Linked DNA regions of Homo sapiens: all the other regions are linked to region 3. The links are contacts of gene promoters, found by promoter capture Hi-C in blood cells and fetal thymus (Javierre and others, 2016). All regions are on one chromosome and are shown on one strand. Each heading gives the region's core, a stretch centred on a gene start or on the middle of the fragment in contact. The rest is flanking DNA. Distances are from core to core; before and after follow the strand shown. Region 1 holds the start of KRTAP16-1 (keratin associated protein 16-1). Region 2 holds the start of KRT34 (keratin 34). Region 3 holds the start of KRT26 (keratin 26). Region 4 has its middle 15 kb from the start of KRTAP17-1. Region 5 overlaps KRT33A (keratin 33A).

The links. Contacts are between HindIII fragments. The CHiCAGO score rates a contact against its expected background, and 5 or more counts as called.
Region 1: a contact is called between the fragment with the promoter of KRTAP16-1 here and the fragment with the promoter of KRT26 in region 3, in 4 of 17 cell types (endothelial precursors, M0 macrophages, M1 macrophages and 1 more). The highest score is 7.9, in endothelial precursors.
Region 2: the fragment with the promoter of KRT34 here is called in contact with the fragment with the promoter of KRT26 in region 3 in 8 of 17 cell types (M1 macrophages, monocytes, M2 macrophages and 5 more); the score reaches 8.8 in M1 macrophages.
Region 4: a contact is called between a fragment that was not itself captured here and the fragment with the promoter of KRT26 in region 3, in 3 of 17 cell types (endothelial precursors, neutrophils and M2 macrophages). The highest score is 6.0, in endothelial precursors.
Region 5: a fragment that was not itself captured here is called in contact with the fragment with the promoter of KRT26 in region 3 in 1 of 17 cell types (endothelial precursors); the score reaches 5.8 in endothelial precursors.

What each region holds. Positions count from the first base shown.
Region 1 is chr17:41,308,044-41,310,743 of GRCh38, reverse strand. KRTAP16-1 (keratin associated protein 16-1) reads left to right here and starts at 1,435. Exons shown (of 1, transcript NM_001146182.2): 1 at 1,435-2,700. The coding sequence starts at 1,491. The HindIII fragment of the contact is 10,229 bases long and covers 1-2,700 here.
Region 2 is chr17:41,381,037-41,383,736 of GRCh38, reverse strand. It overlaps KRT34 (keratin 34), which reads left to right and starts at 1,431. Exons shown (of 7, transcript NM_001386014.1): 1 at 1,431-1,838; 2 at 1,942-2,024; 3 at 2,525-2,681. The coding sequence starts at 1,491. RefSeq lists an enhancer at 1,239-2,438. The HindIII fragment of the contact is 8,651 bases long and covers 1-2,700 here.
Region 3 is chr17:40,770,845-40,773,544 of GRCh38, reverse strand. KRT26 (keratin 26) reads left to right here and starts at 1,344. Exons shown (of 8, transcript NM_181539.5): 1 at 1,344-1,872; 2 at 2,309-2,391. The coding sequence starts at 1,432. The HindIII fragment of the contact is 2,390 bases long and covers 1-1,597 here.
Region 4 is chr17:41,329,044-41,331,743 of GRCh38, reverse strand. It overlaps the pseudogene TBC1D3P7. Among named protein-coding and RNA genes, the nearest start is that of KRTAP17-1, 15 kb to the right of the region's middle. RefSeq lists an enhancer at 1,634-2,203. The HindIII fragment of the contact is 1,543 bases long and covers 508-2,050 here.
Region 5 is chr17:41,346,321-41,349,020 of GRCh38, reverse strand. It overlaps KRT33A (keratin 33A), which reads left to right. Exons shown (of 7, transcript NM_004138.4): 3 at 382-538; 4 at 1,799-1,960; 5 at 2,052-2,177; 6 at 2,353-2,573. Among named protein-coding and RNA genes, the nearest start is that of KRT33A, 3.2 kb to the left of the region's middle. RefSeq lists enhancers at 1,560-2,060, 2,061-2,561. The HindIII fragment of the contact is 520 bases long and covers 1,191-1,710 here.

The DNA.
Region 1 (2,700 bases), core at 186-2,685, 540 kb before region 3:
TGGAGGTCTAATGAATGCTTGAGGAAGAGCAGAAAGGCTGGGTCACATGATTTCCAGGAACAGGTCAAGCCAATGTTCTATGTTCATGGGATAGCATGGAGGACAGCGGTGGGCTAAGCTGGCGATATGTGACTTTGATGAAGTCTTCTGAGAAAGGTAGGTCTAGACAGGTTGGTGAGAAGGAGGGACAGCCGCCTTAGATCAGGGACAGACTGTGTGTGATCTTTAGCAAGTGACTGAAACTTTCTGACCCTCTGCCCCCATTTCTTCATTTCTTTCTCTTTCTTTCTTTCTTTTCTTTCTTTCTTTCTTTCTTTCTTTCTTTCTTTCTTTCCTTCTTTCTTTCTTTCTTTCCTTTCTTTCTTTCTTTCTTTCTTTCTTTCTTTCTTTCTTTCTTTCTTCTTTTCTTTCTTCTTTCTTTCTTTTCTTTCTTTATTTCCTTCTTTCTTCCTTCCTTCCTTCTTTCCTTCTTTCCTTCCTTCATTCCTTCCTTCCTTCTTTCCTTCCTTCCTTCCTTTTTTTTCTTTTTCTTTTTTTGACAGAGTCTTCCTCTGTCACCCAGGCAGGAGTGCAGTGGCTTGATCTTGGCTCACTGCAACCTCCACCTCCCAGGTTCAAGTGATTCTCCTGCCTTAGCCTCCCAAGCATTTGGGATTACAGGTGTGTGCCACCATGCCTGGCTATTTTTTATATTTTTAGTGGAGATGGGTTTTTGCCATGTTGGCCAATCTGGTCTCGAACTTCTGACTTCAGGTGATCTGCCTGCCTCAGCCTCCCAAAGTGCTGGGATTACAGGCGTGAGCCATGGTTCCTGGACCATTTATTCATTTCTAATGGTGGAGAAAAATCTCTGCCTCATGAGATTGCTGGTGGTTTTAAGCAAGATCATTGCTGTAAGGTGCAGTCATTTAAAATCCAGCCCAGTTGTTCTTTTCCCAACTGAGTTCATCACCTCTCCTCTCAATTAATCTCTGTATGTCTATTGTTGAACTTATTATTGTATTGCAGTGAGTTTGTCTGCATGCTTATCTGCCCACTAGAAGGCGAGATCCAAGAGAATGGGTGAATAGGTCTTATTCCTGTGGCATCCTCTGAATCCAACCCAGGGCCCTGTATGGAAGACTAGAAGGTGGATAAATCATAAGTTTCATTCTTCTTTCCCTGTTCACAATGCTCAGAAATATAGATTATCCAGTTTGGAGGTGAGGATGCTTCTTCCAAGACTACCTGTAGCTCTGAGGATTCCAAATTTAGCACATCAATAAATAAACACCTTCTTTACGGGTAGATAAACAGCTTCCAGATCAACAAACGGTGGTATAATAAGATGTTCCTCTGCAAACTGGCCCAAACAACAATGAGGAAAAGATGCAGGAGTCCCAAACAGAACACGCCAGTGAGGGGGTATAAAAGTGAGGGCCTCAGGGAGCTGTCACAGTGAGGCAGCAACCTCTCAGCACTCAGCACAAGGAAGCACGGCCACCTCCACCATGTCTGGCAGTTGCTCTTCTAGGAAATGCTTCTCCGTGCCAGCCACCTCTCTCTGCTCCACTGAGGTGAGCTGTGGAGGCCCCATCTGCCTGCCCAGTTCCTGCCAGAGCCAGACATGGCAGCTGGTGACTTGTCAAGACAGCTGTGGATCATCCAGCTGTGGGCCACAGTGCCGTCAGCCCTCCTGTCCTGTGAGTAGCTGTGCCCAACCCCTGTGCTGTGATCCTGTCATTTGTGAGCCTTCTTGCTCCGTGAGCAGCGGCTGCCAACCCGTGTGCTGTGAGGCCACCACCTGTGAGCCTTCTTGCTCTGTGAGCAACTGCTACCAACCTGTGTGCTTCGAGGCCACCATCTGTGAGCCTTCTTGCTCAGTGAGCAACTGCTGCCAACCTGTGTGCTTTGAGGCCACCGTTTGTGAGCCTTCTTGTTCCGTGAGCAGCTGTGCTCAACCTGTGTGCTGTGAGCCTGCTATTTGTGAGCCTTCTTGCTCCGTGAGCAGCTGCTGCCAGCCTGTAGGCTCTGAAGCCACTTCCTGCCAACCAGTCCTCTGTGTGCCCACTTCCTGCCAGCCTGTCCTCTGCAAATCCAGCTGCTGCCAGCCAGTTGTCTGTGAGCCCAGCTGCTGTTCAGCTGTCTGCACCCTGCCTAGTTCCTGCCAACCTGTGGTCTGTGAGCCTTCCTGCTGTCAGCCGGTGTGCCCGACACCTACCTGCTCTGTGACCAGTAGCTGCCAGGCTGTCTGCTGTGACCCCAGCCCTTGTGAGCCAAGTTGCTCAGAGTCTAGCATCTGCCAGCCAGCTACGTGTGTGGCTCTGGTCTGTGAGCCAGTTTGCCTCCGCCCTGTCTGCTGTGTTCAGAGCTCGTGCGAGCCACCTTCTGTCCCCAGCACTTGCCAAGAGCCTTCTTGTTGTGTCTCCAGTATCTGCCAACCCATCTGCTCTGAGCCCAGCCCCTGCTCACCAGCTGTCTGTGTGTCCAGTCCATGCCAACCTACTTGCTATGTAGTCAAGCGCTGTCCTTCTGTCTGCCCTGAGCCAGTTTCCTGCCCATCTACCTCCTGCCGACCTCTTTCCTGCAGTCCAGGGTCTTCTGCATCTGCCATCTGCCGACCAACTTGTCCTAGGACTTTCTACATACCCAGTTCCAGCAAACGGCCTTGCAGTGCTACGATTTCCTACCGCCCGGTCTCCCGTCCGATCTGCCGCCCAA
Region 2 (2,700 bases), core at 182-2,681, 610 kb before region 3:
TAGGAGAGTTAATACTCTAGAAAGAGGAACAAGTCTAGAAATAAGATGATAGAAATTTCCAGAGAATTTGAGAAAAAGCCACCATGGATACAAAGATACCTCTGAGCACCCTTGCTCCAATTTTCGTTTCTTGGTGAGTCTGCAGTATTATGCTTCATATTCATGCTTCAGTGCTGCCATCTGAACTCTCACTGCTCCAGACTGTTTCCAGCATATTTTTTCTTCTAGATATTTCTACTCTTGCTCATCTTTAGAGAGGCTGTTGCTTTAGTACAAGTTGGCAAATTTTTTAATTTTAGGGCTTTGTGGACACTATAGTCTCTGTCACAACTACACAACTCTGCCACTGTAGCACAAAAGCAGCCATATACAATAGCTAAACAAATGGGCATGGCTGTGTTCCATTAAAACTTTATTTACTGCCGGACGCATTGGCTCACGCCTGTAATCCCAGCACTTTGGGAGGCCGAGGCGGGCGGATCACGAGTTCAGGAGTTCAAGAGCAGCCTGGCCAACATGGTGAAACCCCATTTCTGCTAAAAACACAAAAATTAGCCGGGTGTGGTGGCGGGCACCTGTAATCCCAGCTACTCGGGGGGCTGAGGCAGATAATTGCTTGAACCCGGGAGGTGGAGGTTGCAGTGAGCCGAGATCGTGCCACTGCACTCCAGCCTGGGCGACAGAGTGAGACTCTGTCTCAAAAAAAAAAAAACAGAAAACAAACAAACAAAAACTTTATTTACAAAAATTCAGCAGGGTAAACTTGACGTGTGGGCTGCCATTTGCAGATGCCCTCTTTTAGGTATACTCCCATCCATTCCATTGGTTTCCATTTTACTTTCTCATTTCTCAACCATGAACATGCCATTGTTTTCAGTTGCTCCATGTGTTGGCAAGTTCCCTAAACCCCAACGAATAGTAAGGCTCAGGATCATTTCGGCGAATACAGGTTGAGTTTCTGCTATAAAAACAAATTGAATGCTGAAACATGGATGAATGTGGGAGGAAAGAGCTACTTGGAAGAGTAACTCTCAAAGCTCTCTCTCAGAGCTCTCTCTCTGGGGAGAAAGAACAGTGGCGGAAACTCCTGGGTGAGGAATCCCTGATTCCCAAACAACTCCACCCCATGTCCCTGGCTGTCCTCCCCTCTGAGTAATGCAGACAGCCTTTTGGGGCTGTGATGATTCTATCTCCTATGAAGCCATCTGATGAAACTCTGATTTCACCAACCACTAGCACCCAGGAAGAGCCTGGTGTGACATAAGCTGAATGGAATAATTTTATGGGTTGAGGGGGGACTCTTTAGAAGCATCTAACTAGCATATTTTGGAGAAAAATTAGCTGAAGCATTAGGAAAGGAAACTATGCTGTATGCCAAGCCCCCACCCACAATTAATGGTATAAAAGGACTGCAGAGGAAGGAGAGACTCAAACCTGCCCACATCCACCTCCAGCAGCTTACCTGCTTTTCCATTACCTGTTCCAGCACCATGTCTTACAGTTGTTGCCTGCCCAGCCTGGGCTGCCGCACCAGCTGCTCCTCCCGGCCCTGCGTGCCCCCCAGCTGCCACGGCTACACCCTGCCTGGGGCCTGCAACATCCCCGCCAATGTGAGCAACTGCAACTGGTTCTGTGAGGGCTCCTTCAATGGCAGCGAGAAGGAGACTATGCAGTTCCTGAACGACCGCCTGGCCAGCTACCTGGAGAAGGTGCGTCAGCTGGAGCGGGACAACGCGGAGCTGGAGAAACTCATCCAGGAGCGGTCCCAGCAGCAGGAGCCCTTGCTGTGCCCCAGCTACCAGTCCTACTTCAAGACCATTGAGGAGCTCCAGCAGAAGGTGAGGGGGTTGGCCATATGGGGGGCCAGCAGCAGCTGGCTCTCTTTGAACAGTAAGACATTTTCAAGTTCAAGTGTACCTCATGAGAGAAATTTCTTTTCAGATTCTGTGTGCCAAGGCTGAGAATGCCAGGCTGGTGGTGAACATTGACAATGCCAAGCTGGCCTCTGACGACTTCAGAAGCAAGTATGTTGAACTTCAAGGTCCCTATGGTTCTTTCATGGCCCTAGGGACCTACTATTGCCTGGAAGAGAGGAGAAAGCCATTTCTCTCTATTTCTCCTCCTAGGGCTGGTTATGTAAAATTAGTTTCAAATAGGGAACTAGACTCATGTGCTGCCTGCTCTTTGGTCTATACTGGTTTTTTTTGGAAGTGTTTCTTAAACCACAAAATTCAGAGATTGAAATGAATTGTTCTTTGGGAATTGATTTGGTGGTATATTAGCTAACAAAACCGAGAACACAGTGAGAGACTTCATCTCATGTGTGCCTGTGGGCTCCTCGTGGTGTTAGGTGAGTCAGGGAACCTCTTCAGCCTATCCATGGACAGCTTGACTGAAGCATATGGAAGAGAAGAGGCAGAAAACTGTAAGTTCAAGAAGATTCAGGCCAATTCTACCCAAACAACACATGAGAGGGGAAGGTGGTTTTCTTTCCTGACTTATCCTCCCACTCCGACACGTGCAGGTACCAGACGGAGCAGTCCCTGAGGCTGTTGGTGGAGTCGGACATCAACAGCATACGCAGGATCCTGGATGAGCTGACCCTCTGCAAGTCTGACCTGGAGTCCCAGGTGGAGTCCCTGAGGGAGGAGCTGATCTGCTTGAAGAAGAACCATGAGGAGGTATGAAACAAATTCACAA
Region 3 (2,700 bases), core at 95-2,594:
AATGTTGGATGTTTTCCAAAGGATTCACTATCCACAACATTGAAAAATATCATTCGGAAGAAAATTACTGTTTCAAAACTAAACCCATAATTAGTTAACCAATCAATTTGTATCATTATAGGTGATAGAGACCCGACCCTGTCTGACATGTCCACTTTATTATAATAATTTAAATAATTAACATTTAAAAATGTTTGTGCCTTTCAAACTGTCTTATCGTCATTCATGATTGGAACTGCTCAACATTCATTTGAGACTCTTTGATGCTATTATTTTCATTTGCCCAGTAGGGAAATGATCCAAGCCTGGATAACTTCCCAAGAGCATCAAGGCAAGAGAATAAAGAGTACTTCCCTGTGACAACTTATCTTCTCTCTAGGGTACTATAAGTACTGGTTTTCTAGGTAATGATGAAAACACCTCCCTCCTTATATATTTTACTCCTTGCTAATCAATATGATGCTCACTTCTCAAAATAATTCCTAATGTCTTAAATACATACATTTAAACTAAAAGACAGTAAACACTATTTAGGGGTAGGGAAGTGAACAATTTGGAGACTGTTAGTTGAATTGATGTCCTGCTCCTGGACCAAACCAAGAAATCTCAATCGAATTAATTCTCCACCATCATCACATATTCATGAATTATATTGAAATTAACAATAAGCAGGACTGCAGGATTTCTATTACTTCAGTTTTCAATTCAAGAAATGGTAGATTTCTTTTAAAATCTCCCACTACCAAAAGATCAATAGATGCTGAGATTTTCTGGTTTTGATAAGAAGGAAAACACACACCCAGACACCCAGGGCAGTGGCTCACACCTGTAATGCTGGCCACAGGAGGCTGAGCTGGGTGCTGAGGCTGAGGATCACTGGAGGCCAGGAGTTCGAGACCAGCCTGGGAAACATAGCGAGACCACATATCTTTAAAAAAAGGAAAAAAGAAAAAGAAACGAAAGGAAGAAAGGAAGCACTCAATGAAGTGGGAATACTAGAAATACTCTATGAGCGTTAACAGGACAAAAGTAGGAGACATTTCTCATTGGAATTATTAATTCTTTGTTATATGTGGCAGGGGGAGAATCTAGATTCTATTAATATTCCAGTGGCCAAAAAGATGCACATTTAGTCATATTTAATTTTGGCCTTTGAGGCTATGATTTAGTTTTACTTCACCTGGCACCATTTTTATATATAAAAAATATCCTTGGGGCACCTTTCCACCTACAGACTGGACGCTGTTAAAAATTACCCAATTGTGAAAAACAACAATTAGGATGCAAGTAAATTTTATTACAGACTGGCATAGTCAAGACTGAAATGACCCAGTGAATACTATAAAAGGCCAAGGGAGCTAACAAGTGTGGAAGGTGAACCCTGGCTTTGCTCCTCTTTCTGGGAAGGGGTTGCCCGGCTGTGCTGCCACCATGTCTTTTCGACTTTCTGGTGGATCCAGGAGGATCTGCTCGCGAACTGGGTCTGGTAGGCTGTCCGGTGGAGGAACAGGCTTCGTGGCTGGGAATGTGTGTGTTGGATCGGGAGCAAGAAGCAGCTTTTCTTGTACTCTTGAGGGCATCTCTTCTGGAGGAAGCTTCTGCAATAGCGGTGGAGGGTTGGGAAGTGGTGCCTGTGCTGGTTTTCTTGGCAATGAGCACAGCCTCCTCTCTGGGAATGAAAAGGTGACCATGCAGAATCTCAACGACCGCCTGGCATCCTACCTGGACCATGTGCATGCTCTAGAGGAGGCCAACGCAGACCTGGAGCAGAAGATCAAGGGCTGGTACGAGAAATGTGAGCCTGGCTCTTCCCGGGAACACGATCATGACTATAGCAGATACTTCTCAGTCATAGAAGATCTTAAAAGGCAGGTAAGAAATAGGGATTTGCATACTTTTACTACAGACTTTGTGTGTTGATAATTTAAAGAAGAGAAAATATAAAATGTGCCTAACAAATTTATGTGATGTAAGATTTGTTCACTCTGTATTTCCAGTGCTAAGCACAGTACCTGGCAATAAAATCTTGTAGAATTAAATAATGAAAAAGAAATCATTTCAAAACAGATATAGTCACTTCGTTTTTCATATATTTAGCTCATACCATTTGATCAAAAGTAGTAAAAGTATCTATGTGGCTCTTAAGCTCTGGATGCTTATTATCTGAAGAAAATCCAGATTTCTTTAACATAGAAAAAAGATACTAAAACAGATGTTTGACAGATTAAGAAGATATAAAATCACACTGAAGTCTGGAGCCTCCTTTGACTTTTGGTAATTAACATTTTTCACAATCTTCCCTATTTAGATTATTTCTGCGACCATCTGCAATGCCAGCATTGTTCTACAAAATGACAATGCCAGACTGACCGCTGATGACTTCAGGCTGAAGTAGGTGAAAACAAACTGATTAATTATATTAATAAAAGTTAAAATATTACAATTGGATTAAGGAATATATATTTTGCTTTGAAAACCAAAATGTTTTTCTAAAGCCAGACTAGATCAATAAAGAAATTGAATTAAATAAGCCGTTATAAAAAGAGCTATCATGGTTGGATAGAGTAGCTCATGCCTGTAATCCCAGCACCTTGGGAGGCTGAGGCAGGCAGATCACTTGAGGTCAGGAGTTTGAGACCAGCCTGGCCAATGTGGCAAGACCCCGTCTCTACTAAAAGTACACACACAAAAAAATAGTCA
Region 4 (2,700 bases), core at 30-2,529, 560 kb before region 3:
GAGGGCAGACAGTGGCCAGGGTGAGGCTGGCACTGTGCATCCCCTTCCCCACTGCTGAAGATGCCGCCTAGGGTGGGCTCACAGTCTTTGGGGAGTTAAGAACCATCCTGATCCTAGAGAAGGTTATTTCTGGAAGCAAAAATCCAGGGTTTATGCTCCTGGGACAGGGGATCCCTGGAGCCTCTCATCCTCCCCATAGCCTTTGCATTGGGCAGTGAAGGCGTTTTCCTGTTGAGTCTGAGGAAGGGAGAAGTGGTGTCACTTGGGGTGTCAGCTTTCATCTCACTTAGTCCTCACGGGGGCCTGCAAAGTAAGGGTCACCATCGGCCCAATTTACAGATGAGGACACTGAGGTTCAGAGAAGTTACATGATTTGCCCAAAGTGACACAGCTACTAAGTGGCTGAATGGGATTGAATCCAGGTCTTTCTGAGACAGCCCAAGCTGTTGATGGAGCCCTCTGGCTCACGGATGAGCAGGTAAAGTGAAACAAACACTTTAGAAAGCTTACCTGAGGGTGAGGGGGCAGGCAATTGAGCCTTCTGTGGGGTCCGAAATGTTTACAGTTGTCTCTCTGCGTACGTCGGGAATCAGTTTCACCACCTCCCACAAATACCAAAATCCACAGATGCTCCAGTCTTGATATAAAATGGTACAGTATTTGCATATAACCTAAGCACATCTTCCCATATGCTTTAAATCATCTCTAGATTACTTACCTATGCAATCATGTGTCAGATAGCAACATTTCAGTCCGTGCCAGAATGCATATAGAATGGTGGTCCCATAAGGTTATAATGGAGCTGCCCTATACAGGTGTACCATCTCTAAAAATTGATATCTAAAAAGAGATGGGGTCTTTTTATGTTGCCCAGACTAGTCTAGAACTTCTGGGCTCAAGTGATCCTCCCGGCATGGTCTCTCAAAGTGCTGGGATTATAGGCATGAACCACTACATCTGGCCAGGTGTACCAATTTTTTTTTTTTTTTATCATTTATACTGTATTTTTATCATTCTTTTCTGTGTTTAGATACACAAATAGCCATCATTGTGTTACCACTACCTATGGTACTCAGTATGGTAACATGCTGCAGAGGTTTGGAGCCCAGGAGCAATCAGCTCTACCATTCAGCCAAGGTGTGTGTTTGGTTGCAACCTCTGAAGGAAGCTAAGGAGGAATGACCTAAAGACAGAAGGTGAGTCCGAGGTGGGATCCTGGGACAGGTACCAGAAGTTAAGCAAAAACAGGTGAAATCTGAATGAATTTCACCATATTAATATAGTGACAGCATTAATAACCTTAAATAATAGTTAACATTATTATTCAGTTAACAGGATTGCACCCATGTTAAATTCCTTAATTTTTTTTTTAAGAGAGAAAGTCTCATTCTGTCGCCCAGGCTGGAATGCAGTGGTGCGATCATAGCTCACTGCTTCCTGGATCTCTTGGGCTCAAGCGATCCTCCTGCTTCAGCCTCCTGATTAGGTGGGACTATAGGCACACGCCACCATGCCTGGCTCCTTATTTTTTTTTTTTTTTTTTTTTAACTTTTCTCCAGGGATAGGGTCTACCTATGTTGCCCAGGCTGGTCTCAAACTCCAGGACTCAAATGAACCTTAACCTCCTGCCTTGGCCTCTCAAACTGCTGGGATTACAGGTGTGAGCCACCACACCTGGCCTAAATTTCTTAATTTGGACAAATGTGCCATGGTAATGCAAAATGTCATTATTAGGGGCAGCTGGACGGAAGGTGTCGGAGTACACTATAATGCCTTTTCAGTTTTTCTATATATCTAAAATCATTTCAAAAGTAAACATTTATTTTAAAACATGGACGTGGTTATCCTTCCATGAGTGTAAAGTACAAAAGGCAGGCTCATGGTGTTGTCAGAAGTCAGAACACTGGTTGCAGGGCTGGGGGCGCAGAGGCTGGGTTGGCTTTGTGATCTGGGGGCTGATGTGTTCCATCTGTTAATGTCTTTAGAGCTGTGCACTTTCTTCATAAATTTTCATAAGTTTAACAAAAAAGTAAAACGAGGATGGGAAGCTTGTTTGGGTTGTGGGGCCTCGGGAGTGTACTGCTGCTTGTCCCTAGCTGTGAATGGGGTGCCCTGGTCGGAAGCAGTGCTGTGTGCACTGCAGGGCCGGCAAGTGCATGTCCACGTTGTGGCTCAGTGCAGTGAAAGCCAATCTCAGCCCCTTCCGCAGTGTGGTCAGCCTGCCAGTAGGTGGCCAGCTGGTCCTTCTGGGAAATGGTGCCATCCCAGGGGTTGGGTGTGAATCTGTTTTCCACAGACAAGGCGCTCAGCAGTGGTGTCAGCCTGGTGAGCCTTGGTAAGGGCATGTGCAGGATGCTGAGCCTCTCCCGTCCCCATGCCCGTCTCATGGCCACTTGCTCTGCGGGCCCATCCAGCAAGCATGGTGGCTGGGAAAGAAGCCGGCTCCATCCACAGGGCATGCTGTTTTGCCCACCTCAGGACCAAGAGTATTCTCTGTAGTAATTCTCTTTGGTGGGAGCACTGGGAACATGAACAACAGATACCTTCAGAGTCTGAGCTGCTGAGGTGAGGGCTGCAGGGTGCCCTGCTGTCAGGAGAGCCTGCACTGGCAGCTGGAAGGCACGTGGTGGTGGCACCTGCTGTGGCTGCAGCAGTGGCTGCAAGGCTTCGAGATCTCTCCCCGGTTCTGTAAGGTGAATT
Region 5 (2,700 bases), core at 201-2,700, 580 kb before region 3:
TTACAGTTTGTCAGCTTTTATCCTAAATCCACTGGCTTTCTTCTTTTTTTTAGAGACAGGGCCTTGCTCTGTCACCCAGGCTGGAGGGCAGTGGTGCAATCATAGCTCAGTGTAACTTCAGATCCTCAGACTCCTGGGCTCAAGCAACCCTCTCCCCTTAGCCTCCTGAATAGCTAGGAATATAGAAGTCTATCCACTGGATCTTTAAACGTAAAATTACCAGTGCATTTTCTTCCAGCTCGATGCTGAAAACCTAAACAAAAGAGATGGCTATAAAAACTACAAACCCTAATTCCTAGTTGCCTGACTAACCAAACCAAAGCAGAGTCAAGGCCAGGCCTATTCCTGCCCAGCCTGTTCCTGACCCTCCTGTGATCACAGATATGAGACCGAGCTGTCCCTGCGGCAGCTGGTGGAGTCGGACATCAATGGCCTGCGCAGGATCCTGGATGAGCTGACCCTGTGCAGGTCTGACCTGGAGGCCCAGGTGGAGTCCCTGAAGGAGGAGCTGCTGTGCCTCAAGCAGAACCATGAGCAGGTGAGTTCCCTGAAGAGTGATGGGCTCAGACTAGCCAGGACCTGTTTCACAACTGCCACAGGGTCCAGGACAGGCTGTCAGTAGAGGCTCAATTAGCTGAGGAAGTAATTCTGCATACAAAAAGGGATATGTAGAGAATGACTAATCTAAAAACCTGTGATATGAGATTAGGATTTTTCTGCCAGAGGCAGGAATGAGAGTGAGGAAGTTGGCAAGCCCAGTAGTGAGGAAAGCTGGGTAATGAGGCAGAAGCCACAGCCTCTCCTGTGCCCAGGTTAGAGTGCATGCAGCAGCAATCTTCTATTCCAATTCTCCATTTGTAGCTGGAGAAGCCAGGATGGCCTAGGCCCATCAGGCAGAGAGGGCTGAGCTAGAACAAAATGCAATTCTCTTCGTTCCTGTCCAGAGCTCTTTCTGCTTGCTGTTCAGTGTTGCTTGGAAACAGCCTTGAGCAAAATGCTCACCATTATGGCTAAGTCAGTTGGGCAAAAAAGAAGACGTGTATTTTATGCAACCTGAAATCCAAGAACAATGTAAATGGTGACAGTTAATATTAATCAAGTGCTTAGTATGTGCCAAACATTGTGCTAAGTGCTTTAACTCCGGAGGCAGTTCTCATGTTAAGATGAAGAAATCGAGGCTTCAAGAAGCTTCTAGAAGCAATGTATTAAGTGGTAGAGATGAGGTTGAATACAAATTTGTCTGAAATCCGCCTAAGCCCAAGTACCAAGCTATGCTTAGCAGGGAAGTAAACAGATACTTATTGCCTTCAGCAAAATCTATGCTGGTGGAATCAACAAATCACCCTTTAAGTCTCTTCTATGCCAGGATGGCAGATTTTGAAGTAAGCATTCTGTATTTCCTCTTTAGCTAGACTCTGTTCTTTTTATTATCCATGCTTAAGAGTCAAACATGTGAGGCTATATGGTATACTAGCAAAAACACTGAACTGGGCATTTGGGGACCAGAGTTTAAATAATGGCCCACCATGTATCAGCTTTGAGCCCAAATCACTGAATCTCTCTAAATGAGGAGTGATACATTTAATACAAAGAGCAGAGGGAAGTCATGGGCTTGAAAGTAGTTTGTAAAAAGTGGAGTATACAAATTAGTCATTGAATATAGATCCTGGTTAGTGACAGGATCAGAGGGAACAAAGTTTCTTGAAAGCTTAAGAATGATCAGAAGTTGAATTGCATTCTCTTAAGGAGAGCACCAAGATCCTTTGTGAAATTTAAAATTTTGCCCTTTCTCCATCAGGAGGTTAACACCCTGCGCTGCCAGCTTGGAGACCGCCTCAACGTGGAGGTGGACGCTGCTCCCACTGTGGACCTGAACCAGGTCCTGAATGAGACCAGGAGTCAGTATGAGGCCCTGGTGGAAACCAACCGCAGGGAAGTGGAGCAATGGTTCGCCACGCAGGTGGGCATCTAAGCACGTGGCCACTCAGGACCCGAGGCCCCCCAGGGCCCCGGAGGCAGGGTCTGATCCTTTCTCCCCTTGGGTGTTTCAGACCGAGGAGCTGAACAAGCAGGTGGTATCCAGCTCGGAGCAGCTGCAGTCCTACCAGGCGGAGATCATCGAGCTGAGACGCACGGTCAATGCCCTGGAGATCGAGCTGCAGGCCCAGCACAACCTGGTGTGTATTGTTCAGACCTGCTGGTGAGCGATGGGAACTTGGGAGGCAGAGTCTTGGGGATGCCCTTGGGGCCACACACTCTCCTTAGCTCTTGGAGCTTGTGAGTTCTTTGGAACCCCATGGAGGAACCTTATAAGGAGCAGCTCTCTGACACTCTCAATCTTCCCCACCACAGCGAGACTCTCTGGAAAACACGCTGACAGAGAGCGAGGCCCGCTACAGCTCCCAGCTGTCCCAGGTGCAGAGACTGATCACCAACGTGGAGTCCCAGCTGGCGGAGATCCGCAGTGACCTGGAGCGGCAGAACCAGGAGTATCAGGTGCTGCTGGACGTGCGGGCGCGGCTGGAGTGTGAGATCAACACGTACCGGAGCCTGCTGGAGAGCGAGGACTGCAAGTCAGTATGGGGGTAGTAATCTTCTCCTTGGGGCATGTTAGGTTGCTGTGGAGATGAATAGTCTTCTTGATGGAAATGAATTTATAATTTCAAGCTTTTGTTTGGAGGAAGTCCAAGGAGGAACAAT